Linked DNA regions of Homo sapiens: region 2 is linked to region 1. The links are contacts of gene promoters, found by promoter capture Hi-C in blood cells and fetal thymus (Javierre and others, 2016). All regions are on one chromosome and are shown on one strand. The core of a region is centred on a gene start or on the middle of the fragment in contact, and the rest is flanking DNA. Distances in the headings are between cores, read along the strand shown.

Region 1 (5,972 bases), core at 2,343-4,842:
AAAAAATAAAAAAATCCAAAAACAGGTACTAAGAGGACAGACCTTGCATCAAATGGTGCTAGGAAAACTGGACATCCACAAGCAAAACCATACATCATATATTTTGTATATGGTGTATATACAAAAAAATTACACCATATACAAAAATTAACCCAAAATGTTCTTGCCACAAAAACAACAAAAAATTGGGTAACTACGTGAAATGATGGATGTGTTAATTTGCTTCACTATAGTAACCTTTTTACTACCTGTATGTAGCCTCATAACATCATGTATACCTTATACCAAATTAAATTGATTTAAAAAGAAATTTAACCCAAAATGGATCAAAAACTTTACTTGTAAGAGCTAAAACGATAACTTTGGGAGGCCAAGGCGGGTGGATCACCTGAAGTCAGGAGTTAAAGACCAGCCTGGGCAGCAAGGATAAATCCCGTCACTACTAAAAATACAACAATTAGCCATGCGTGGTGGCGCACGCCTGTTATCCCAGCTACTCGGGAGACTGAGGCAGGAGAATAGCTTGAACCCGGGAAGCGGAGGTTATGGTGAGCAGAGATGGCACCATTGCACTCCAGCCTGGGCAACAAGAGTGAAACTCCGTCTCAAAAAAAAAAGCTAAAACGAAAGCTCCTAGAAGAAAACAGGAAAAGCTTCATGGCATTAGATTTGGCAACGATTTCTTAGATATGACACTAAAAACACAGGCAACAAAATATATAAAGTGGACTACAACAAAGTCATCTTTTCTTAAAAAAATCTCGTTATCTTACTCCCGCAAAACTATTTAAAAAAATTAAGTTCAAAGTTCTCCAAAATGTACCATACCCTGGGGATTACTCTGAACTTTGTTCATTTGTTTTCTTTTAATTCGGCTTTTTTGGTTGCCTTTCACCTACTTTTTCGCAGAGCCCTCCGCTGGGGCCTTCACTTGGGCAAACAACTATCGTAGTCGAACAGCTTTGACCTAACAATTTCCTCGTACCCAAGATGATCGCTTTTCCAGACAACTTAATAAACTTTGGCTTTAATGGATGACTGGATGCAGAATAAAATACATAAAAATAAACCTCAGCTGCTCAGCAACGACTGAAAAACCACCACCGGGCAATCCCTCCCCATGGCCACCGAGCAAAGTTCCACCGCCTCCCCTACGCCGACCGCCGGGCTCCCGGGGTCGGACAGCCCCGGGCCACTTCCGGGCCTTCCCGGAAGTCCCTGTCACTTAACAACCGAAGTAACCCGCAATGCGGAAGGGCGAGGGGATTGCGAGTCACCGAGTTTCCCGCGCGGCTTGAGGTACTGGGGAACCGGAATCCCCCACCGGCCCAATCATGTTGCTGCTGGGGTCTCTCCGGTGCCCAGCAGTGGTTGTCAGTAAGCGGGCGGCACTCCCTTCCGATACGTCTTTTCTTTTTTCATTTTTGAGACGGAGTCTCGCTGTGTCACCCAAGCTGGAGTGCAGTGGCGCGATCTCGGCTCAGTACAAACTCCGCCTCCCGGGTTCAAGCGAGTCTCCTGCCTCAGCCTCCTGAGTAGCTGGGATTACAGGCGCGAGCCACTGCGCCCGGCTAATTTTTTTTTGTATTTTTAGTAGAGACGGGGCCTCGCCATGCTGGCCAGGCTGGTCTTGAACTCCTGACCTCAAGTGATCCGCCCGCCTCGGTCTCCCAGAGTGCTGGGATTACAGGCGAGAGACACCGCGCCTGGCCCCCTTCCAACTTTCTTAACGGGAAAGGCTGCTACCATTTCTTGAGCACCTATGTGTCAGGCTCCATCAGGCACGTCACAGTCTAACCTGATAATTACACAACCCATGTCACTGACAAGGAAGCCAGGTTCGGAGGGGTTGAGGCCCGCAACCTGAGGGAGGTGACTCCGGGACACACAATTAGTCCTGCTTTGCTGAAGGAAAGATATGCAGCCCACCAGTCGGAGGCTGGAGAAGGAGCAGCAGCAGCTTAAACCTTAACCCAGAGTTATTTTTATTTTCCAGAACGTGTTAGGAACTAGTACTTAAATAATCTCAAGTCCCTGAGGGGCCAGAGATCCCACCATGCAAAATAGCAAACAGACCCAAGACTTGGGGAGAGGCGGTGAGTGCATCAGAAATGGATGGGTACATCTGATTCCCACCACGCGGGGCTCAGCTTAGTTAGCAGGAGACCTTCAGACTGAGAAAAAATGCAAGTCTTTTTTTGGCCTCTAATATCTGGGAAGGATGGAGGGAGCTCAGGAGACACAGAAAAGATGGCGTATGAATCCTGTCCGGCCTGAACGAGGCTGGAGTTGTGCCTCTGGATAGCTTCAAGCACTGATCAGATTGTCAGCCCCCGCTGCTTGAACAGATGCTTTAGAGCCTCTTCCAGTTGCCGGTTTGTTCCCTGAAGCCCCTTCACCACCTGCGCTGCCCACTCGAAGTATTCCTGGACTCGATGTTCTGACCATCCTGCATAAGAGTCGACAGAAACTTGCTAGCGTGATGTCAAGGAAAGCACTGCCTTTTCCCCACTTCCTGGCAAGCTTGGTTCAAGGCCATGAGTTCCTGATGGAATGAGCTGTCCTGAAAACTTCCCCTTGGCCCAGCTATTGTATTTTTACTGTATGAAAGAAGATCAAAGAGTGGTCCAGTAGGATTAATTTGGGAATTAAGAATGCCCAGGGTTTTTCAGGGGAACTGACCAACATGTGTCTTCAGAAGGCGGCATCCCCCTCCCTTTTCCCTTACAGCCCATACGAAAGCGTACCCTCTGGGGTGCAGCGATTCAGGTCCCTCAGATTGTACAGCTTGTCTGCCAGCTTCACCAGTTTGGCCCCGGGGCTACTGTGGGGCGCTTGCTCCACCTGCAGCCTCTTTCTCTCCAGCTTGGGCAGAGTCTTGTCATCTGTTACCTCCTCCACCAGGCGCCGCACTTGTGCCCCAAAGTGTAGCTCCACCTCATCCAGGGTGGTGTCTGTGTCCTCCACCGTGTCATGGAGCAGGGCCGCCTGGGGACAAGTTCCCACTCAGCCCTGAGATGTCAGCCAAGGGTTGCCCATTGCTGAATGGGGCCCCTAATCCCCATCCCAGGCTCCTGGCAGAGAAGGGGGAAAGTTACCTGTAACACCACAATGTCAGTGATTCCCGCCTCGTGGGTCAGGATCCGTGCCACACCTGACGGGGAGGGGCAAAGCAGGAAGTCAGGTCGGAGGTAGTCCCAAGGCGGTGTGTTGTGGGTTTTGGAGAGCCAGATGTGGCCCCTTGTGGACTCTGACTAGCTGGGTGACCTTGGTCAAGTACCTTACCCTCTGGGAGCCAACCGACAAAGGGAACGATCATGCCTACCGTTCCAATTGTTATGAGGCTTAAACGGTATATCGCACTAAGCTTGGGACAAAACAGGTGCTCAATGAGGTGCACGCCCCCCACGTTTCCTTCCCAGTCCCCACCACCCAGGTGCCGCAGCCGGCGCTCCGCGGCCGACGCGCCCACCGATGGGGTGGTTGATGTAGGGGGTCCCCTCGGGGTCCTTCCGCCGCTGCTGCCGGTGCTTGCGAGCCGCGAAGTCGGCAGCCTCCAGCAGCTGCGCCGCCTCAGAGCCCATCGCGCGGATGGGGCCGACGACTGCGGCCGCAGGGGCAGGGACGGAACGTTTACAGCGCCCCCTGGCGCCGGGGAGGCCCGGGGATCGTGGAGGCTAATTCAGCGGGCCGAGTTGGGCCTGCCCCAGATGAATTCCTCTGGAGCTGACCGGCCCGCGCAGAGAGCAAGTGATGTGGACAGCTGCCTTCAGCATCGCAGCCCCCAGCTCAGTGTGCTCTGTTGGGGGTGCAAGAAGAACATAAGCCTGGCTCTTTGGGAGCCCACAGTCTGTGGAAAAGAGGAAGACAGACAAGAAATAAGGCAGTGGCCTCACAGTGCTCTGAATCCAGGGTGGCCAAGGCTCAGGGGACTATGGGAGCGGGAAGAAAGAACAATCCCCACACCCTCAGAGTCAGAGACAGCTTCTCCCAGAAGCTCCCCCCAAGAACCATCTTCAACCTGTAAAAGCTCTGAAAATTCTCCAAGTGTTCTAAAAATAGTTCTCCCTGTAGGGATGGGCCAGGTTCTGTGGGCAGGGGAGTCTACCTTTGGACCCTCCAGGAGACCCTAGGGCCTGACCTGAAAAATCAGAGCCTTCCCTGGGAGCCCTGCCTAATTGCTTCAGACTTAGGCTCCCAGGTAGCTGTGACGTTTCTGCAGGAACTGCCTTTGTTTGTCCTCAGTGTTGCAGATGAAATTTGCCTTGTCTTCTTATGCTATGAGAGCTCCTATTTCAGTCTCTAGGCATCTTCTGTGGGCCCCTGGGGTGATGAGTGTTGTCACTGCTGTCCTGGGAGCATGATGTTGTCAGGCCTGGGTAGGCACTGGAATAACACTTAATTCTGCTGGCTGGTGGCCTTCTGGAGAAATTCCCTGCCTTAGGGGCAGCTGAGGGGTAAGAGAGACCTGGTGATCCCCATAGAACTTCTCTGTGAGAGGGGGTTCCCTATTAGCTAAGTATACTCTAATCAGACATGTAGCTTTTGTGTTCTGGCTGGTAGCTGGGGCAGATAAGGCTCAGGGGAAAGGCTAATGAAAGGAGTCACCCTTGGTTTTCAGCTAGTCTTGGTGGTTGCCACGTAGCAGAGGTTAGGGAGGGAAGCCCCACATGCTGGAACTGAGGTCTCTGGGACCTGAAATAGGAGGGTCAGAATTCCCAGAGCTTCCATGGCAGCCTGGAAGTTGGAGAATGGGTAGAAACATATTTGGCTGTAAATGCTTGTTTGTTCTTCATACTAATGGCTCAGCTGCTCTCTCATCCCTCATTCTGTCCTCTAGTCCTTTGAGCCTTCTCTCCTTCAGCAGTTTGGCAATGCAGGCCCCACGTTTTCCAACAGGAGACAGAAACCCAGTCCCTGTCATCTCTCTCTAAAAGCCTGTGATAGAGAAGCTTCAGGCTCGTATTAATGGTGCCCAAGGGCCTTGGGGCTTTGACTTTTATTTCCTTATTGTCTGCAGTCACGGCCTAGAAAGAGAGATGTTGGGGTTCCCAGGACCAGGACAGAGGTGGTAGTGAACTCTCATGGGCATCCAGAGAAGGTCAGGCCCCTTGCTGACAGGCCTATCTGTGGGGCTACTGCTGCTCTTCAGCTGGGTGACCCTTGTCCAGCCAACCTCTCTCTCAGGTACAGCACTTACCCCTGTGGCCCACCTGCCTCTGGTGCTATGGGCTATTCCTGGGAACTGGAACTGATGGGGATGGGTGGAAGGGCATCTTTTCTTCTGGTAGGGGCTGATCTCTTTTACTCTCCAGTAGGGGTGGAGTGAGCTGTGGAAAGGCCCCTCCTGCTTGTCTCTAGCACCCCCACCTCTCTCTTCAGCTCTGGTCCACCACCCTCACTTGTGCCAGACCACCCGGGATGTCCATGGCCGTCACTACCCTGGTTTCTTTTGCCCTCGTCTGTCTGATTCTCCAGAGGAAGCCTACTGCTGCCACCTGCAGGCTGCAGGGGGCTCCTGCTGCACCCGGGCTGAATTTGAGGCCCTGTACCAAGTCAATCTGTCCGCTCTTCCGCCCCCGCCCATCCTCAGGTGAGATCTCCAACCCCAGAGCCACTGGAACATCGACAGGGTGTTCCAGTATCTGGGGCTCTGTTCCTAAATTATGGGGTGGTAGGCTTGTAACTTACAGACTAGTGAAGGGACAGACCGCAACAGAAAATCATGTAGATCATGATTACAATTACAAAGGAGAAGTTCAGGGGGCTGTGCAAGCTGGTAATGGGGAGCCATCCTGAATCTGCCCATGGGTGGCTCTAGGATGAGCTCCTAAATTCGTATGCAAATGTGTGTATGTAAGACGACACTTATTTGGGGAGGGAGTCCTGAGCTTTCTCCGGACTCCCAGGGATTCTGTACCCCCCACAGAGCGCAGCAGCGAGAGCGCGGTCGGGGCCGGGATCCAGATACT
Region 2 (5,775 bases), core at 1,748-4,247, 550 kb before region 1:
CACAGCCAAGCTCTTTGCTAAGACACAACAAATGTGACCTTTGTTTTAGTTCTCAAGAAGTTTCTCACTTCCATCTGAGACCTTGTCAGCCTGGCCTTCATTGTCCATATCACTATCAGCATTTTGGTTGAAACTATTTAACCAGTCTCTAAGAAGTTCCAAACTTTCCCTCACCTTCCTATCTTCTTCTGAGCCCTCCAAACTCTTCCAACCTATACTTGTTACCCAGTTGCAAAGTCGGTTCCACATTTTCAGGTATCTTTATGGCAGTGCCCTACTCCTTGGTACCAATTTTCTGTGTTGGTCCATTTTTGCATTGCTAGAAAGAAATACCTGAGACTGGGTAATTCCTTTTCCTTTTTCTGAGACAGAGTCTTGCTCTGTTACCCAGGCTGGAGTGCAGTGGTGCAATCTTGGCTCACTGCAACTTCCACTTCCTGGGTTCAAGTGATCCTCCTGCCTCAGCCTCCGGAGTAGCTGGGATTATAGGCACACACCATCACACCTTGCTATTTTTTTTTCTTTTTTTAGTAGAGATGGGGTTTCATTGTGTTGATCAGGCTGGTCTTGAACTCCTGACCTCAAGTGATCCACCCACCTCTGCCTCCCAAAGTGCTGGGATTATAGGTGTGAGCCACTGTGCCTGGCTGAGACTGGGTAATTTATAAGAAAAGAAATTTAATTGGCTCACGGTTCTGAAGACTGTACAGGAAGCATAGTGGCATCTGCTTCTGGGGAGGCCTCAGGAAGCTTCCAATCATGGTGGAAGGTGAATGGGGAGGAGGCGCATCACATGGTGAAATCAAGAGTGAGAGACAGAGTGCCACACACTCTTAAATGACCAGATCTCATGAAAACTCACTCCCTATCACAAGAACAGCAGCAAGGGAATGGTGCTAAACCATTCAAGAGAAAACCGCCCCCATGATCCAATCACCTCCCACCAGGCCCCATCTCCAACACTGGGGATTATAGTTCAACATGAGATTTGGATGGGGACCAATATCCAAACTATGTCAACAATTGTGTTACTTCTCCATCTACTTTTCTCCTGGTAGCTGGCTAGTTTCTCTTAACACTGATTGTAAGACCTATCCTGATTTCAGAGGCATTTAAATATAAAAAAAATTGGGACTTATTTCTTGAAAATGTTGTACTTACTAGACAGTAAGACTTATTTCTGAAGATACCTGGTTTCTAAAAGTACTACTGGGAAATATAATAAATGAGGAAGTGATTAATTTTGCCTGGGGAGTAGGTGACATTTGAATTGGGTCTGGGAGGTTCAGTAGGAGTTTCCCAGGCAGATAATAGGCTAAAAGGTATTCCAAGCAAGGGAAACTTCTATTATGGTGCTTATCTCAAGATATCCTGTTAATATTGCTTGACTCCTCCTGGCTTGTAAATTCTTTGTGGTCATTAACCAATTTTGACTCCCAAAATGACCATTTACCTCATTATTTTGCCGTTTATTCATTTCATATTTACTAATTTTATTCATATTTATATTTGCTGACAAAATAGTATTTCCAGCAGCTCATTTTAAATACAGACAAGCAAGCAAGCAAACCCCACACAAATCCAGTGTAATAGCACTGCCTGGAGAAGCCACTGTTAATATATTGGTGTATATACTTCAAGGCTTTATCTATTCATATGCACATATCCATCAATGTATCTATCTATCTAGCTACATTTAAAACAAAATGGTATCATATTTATTAGTCATAATTTGATATATTAACTTAACCACAATATTAAAATATTGTACTGCCAGCCTGTACATTTTTTGCCTGCCCAGCCTCCCACTGAAGGAAATTATGCCCAGCTCATAGTTCTCTATGCTTAATTATCTGTATCTCCTGATCATAGTTGATTGAAGTAAAGGATCAGCATCCAATCTAAGGGCAGCCTGCCTGTGGGTGGTCAGAGATTTACCCACAGGGTGGAAAGCTGAGCTGGGTCAATCATATGCCACTCTATGGGTTATGGAGTTAGGCAATTGAGATGATCCTCAATGGAGCTGATGATGTAAGGATACCATGACCTTCAGTCAAAGCCATGGCAAGGCAAGCAGAAACAAGAGTTGTGAGGGAACAGAAAAAATTAAATGGAGTAAGCTGGTTAGCAAAGAGTGGAGAGTAGAGCCAGCCTGTGGAAAAGCAGAGATGCCCAGAGAATGAAACCATGACTTCAAGCTTTCATTAGTCCTGTTTTTTTTTGTTTAGTGTAGTTTTGTTTTTGGTGCAGTTCCAGTCCATATAGGTCTGTATAAGAAAGGCCTCCCTTCCAGCCTTTTTTCCTCTAGAAGTAAAACTGTGCATGTCTGTTTCCTGTAGCCAGTCAAGCCTGACCAGACCACAGATCATCACTGTTCATGGCTATATGGCATTCTATTGTGTATAGCTGCCATCACTGATTTAAACACCTACTGATGGACATTTGAGTAATTTCCAAGGAGCATCTTCATGGATAACTTTTGCACATTTAATAAAAGCACGATATCCTTATGATACATTCCAAGAAGTGAAGTTTTTTGGTTGAAGAATAGATGCATAATGATAAGCTGGTCTTTAGAAAGACTATATTAATTTATTGCCTACTAACATTGCATAAGAGTGGTTGCTTTTTCACCCCCTTGCCAATAATATCAATTAAAAAGACAAACCAAAATGTTGCTACATATGATAGGCAAGAAGTGATATGTGGCATGTTATCTTTTCTATTTTTTTTTTTTTTGGTGATGGGTCTCACTCTGTCTACCTGGGCAGGAGCACAGTGGCGGGATCACAGCTCACTGCAGCCTCAACTCCCAGGCTCAAGCGATCCTCCCACCTCAGCCTTTTGGGTAGCATGCCACCACGCTGGGCTAATTTTTTGTATTTTCTGTAGAGACGGGGTTTTTCATTTTGCCCAGGCTGGTCTTGAACTCCTGGCCTCAAGCAATCCTCTCTCCTCTGCTTCCCAAAGTGCTGGGGGGTATAGGTGTGAGCCGTTGTGCCTGGCCAGCATGTTATTATCTTAATGTCTATTTCTCTGAATCTTGAGTTTATTGACTAGGAATTGGGCTTTGTCATTAGACAGGCCTGGGTTTGAGTTCCAGCTCTGCCTCTTGCTGTGTGGCTTCAGGTAAGTAACCCAGTTCTCCATTTTCCCAAGTGTAAAATGGACATAATGGGATTATTACAAGGATCAGCTGAGAAAATAAATGTGCAACACTTAGTATAGTAAGGTACCAGTGCAGTTGGTAACTTAACATCTCTGTGGCTTTCACCTCAGACAAACTTTGTAATTAAGTAAAGAAAGCCTTTATGGAATGAACAATTGGATTAATATGTTGGAGTTAAGAAGAAATATTTCGGCTGGGCATGGTGGCTCATGCCTATAACCCCAGCACATTGGGAGGCCAAGGTGGGCAGATCACTTGAGGTCAAGAGTTCGAGACCAGCCTGGCCAACATGGCAAAACCTCACCTCCAGTAAAAATACAAAAATTAGCCGGGTGTGGTCGTGTGCGCCTGTAAGCCCAGCTACTCAGGAGGCTGAGGCAGGATAATCACTTGAACTTGGGAGGCTGAGGTTGCAGTGAGCCGAAATCACGCCACTGCACTCCAGCCTGGGTGACAGAGTGAAACTCTGTCTCAAAAAAAAAAAAAAAAAAAGAAGAAGAAGAAGAAATATTTCACATTTTATGTATTCGCAATGTTTAAGAAAATTTGGCCGACTTGAATGACAGCTTTTTTGTAAATCATTTTAAATGTGTAATTGAGTTAGTTTTAGACTTAGGTTTTTGAGTTGAAAGCTTACTAAGTTTACACATGGAATCAGGCCATCTAAGAGAATGTTAGCTTTGTTATGCTTGTATGTTTATTTATAGGAATTACTAAGTTTTGAAAAAGTTTTAAACAATTGAATGAATTAAAAAGAAAATCTAGGCCGGGCACAGTGGTTCACGCCTGTAATCCAAGCAGTTTGGGAGGCAGAGGTGGGTGGATCACCTGAGGTCAGGAGTTCAAGACCAGCCTGGGCAACATGGTGAAATCCCGTCTCTACTAAAAATACAAAAATTAGCTGGGCGCGGTGGTGCGTGCCTGTAATCCCAGCTACTCAGGAGGCTGAGGCAGGAGAATCGCTTGAGCCCAGGAGGCAGAGGTTGCAATGAGCCAAGATTGTGCCATTACACTCCAGCCTGTGCGACAGAGTGAGACTCCGTCTCAAAAAAAAAAAAAAGTTTTGAAAAAGTTTTATACGATTGAATGAACTAAAAAGAAAATCTAGGCCAGGTGCGGTGGCTCATGCCTGTAATCTTAGCACTTTGGGAGGCCGAGGCCAGTGGATCACAAGGTCAGGAGTTTGAGACCAGCCTGGCCAATATAGTGAAACCCCATCTCTAATAAAAAAATATATATATATATAAAATTAGCCAGGTGTGGTGGCGGGTGCCTGTAATTCCAGCCACTTGGGAGGCTGAGGCAGAAGAATCCCTTGAACCCGGGAGGCGGAGGTTGCAGTGAGCTGAGATTGCACCATTGCACTCCAGCCTGGGTGACAAGAGTGAAACTCCATCTCAAAAGAAAAAAAAAAAGAAAATGTAATAGGAAATCTAATATAGACAATATAATAGGCACAATTTATTCTTTATTATTATTTTTTATTTTTATTTATTTATTTTTTTGAGATGGAGTCTCGCTCTATTGCCTAGGCTAGAGTGCAGAGGCATGATCTTGGCTCACTGCAAGCTCCGCCTCCAGGGTTCACGCCATTCTCCTGCCTCAGCCTCCCGAGTAGCTGGAATACAGGTGCCCGCCACCATGCCCGGCTAATTTTTTTTTTTTTTGTGTTTTTAATAGAGCTGGGGTTTCACCGTGTTAGCCTGGATGGTCTCAATATCCTGACCTCGTGATTCGCCCACCTCGGCCTCCGAAAGTGCTAGGATTACAGGCGTGAGCCACCGTGCCCGGCAATTATTATTATTTTTTAAAAGACAGTCTCGCTCCGTCAACCAGGCTGGATTGCAGGAGCACAATCTCGGCTCACTGCAACCTCTGCCTCCTGGGTTCAAGTGATTCTCCTGCCTTAGCCTCCCGAGTAGCTGGGACTACAGGCGTGTGTCACCATACTAAGCTAATTTTTTTGTATTTTAGTAGAGACGGGGGTTTCACCATGTTGGCCAGGCTGCTCTCGAACTCCTGACCTAAGGTGATCCACCCACCTTGACCTCCCAAAGTGCTCGGATTACAGGTGTGAGCCACTGTGCCTGCCCTAGTAGGCATAATTTTAAATATTTGAAGATGTTGAATTAACTGAGTGAGACTTAAAAAAAAATTTTCAGGAAATTTCAGAATGCTCTATGTCCTCGTTGCCATTGCGGCTGCCTTTCTCAAGAATGCCTGGCCTAAGGAGCGGGTGCTGGTCCTGTTCCTCACCATCGGGGGCCTAGCTATAAATCTGACCCCAGTCTGCCCCTATACCATGTACTCCACCAGGATCAACTAGGCCACGCCCCACAACAACCCAGTGCCCCTCCGAGATGATGGGAACATGCTGGACATGCCCAGCCACCCCCAAGGCCCAAGCATGGAGTGGTTGAAGAAACTGCAAGCACTTCCATTGACATGGAGAAGACCATGTCCCCTGTGGCCCCCAATAAAAATGTGACCCCCCCGCCTCCGAAATAAATAAATCATTCAGTTTCTGAAAAGTGTTTGGTAAAATGTGCTAGACTTATAAATAGAATAATACAATTTGTAAAGTGAACTTAAAAGCTTAAGAATGA

What was found. The method cuts DNA at HindIII sites, captures the fragments that hold promoters and counts their contacts. A CHiCAGO score of 5 or more calls a contact.
Region 2: a fragment that was not itself captured here is called in contact with the fragment with the promoter of HDDC3 in region 1 in 1 of 17 cell types (naive CD8 T cells); the score reaches 5.0 in naive CD8 T cells.

Annotation. Positions count from the first base shown.
Region 1 is chr15:90,928,957-90,934,928 of GRCh38, forward strand. It overlaps HDDC3 (HD domain containing 3), which reads right to left and starts at 3,593. Exons shown (of 4, transcript NM_001286451.2): 1 at 3,473-3,593; 2 at 3,099-3,154; 3 at 2,748-2,988; 4 at 1,012-2,449. The coding sequence starts at 3,584. The coding sequence ends at 2,319. It also overlaps a transcript of UNC45A not described here. RefSeq lists enhancers at 901-1,130, 2,761-2,990, 3,741-3,790, 5,415-5,514. The HindIII fragment of the contact is 1,585 bases long and covers 3,366-4,950 here.
Region 2 is chr15:90,380,459-90,386,233 of GRCh38, forward strand. It overlaps the pseudogene NDUFA3P4. Among named protein-coding and RNA genes, the nearest start is that of IQGAP1, 4.9 kb to the right of the region's middle. The HindIII fragment of the contact is 1,603 bases long and covers 2,197-3,799 here.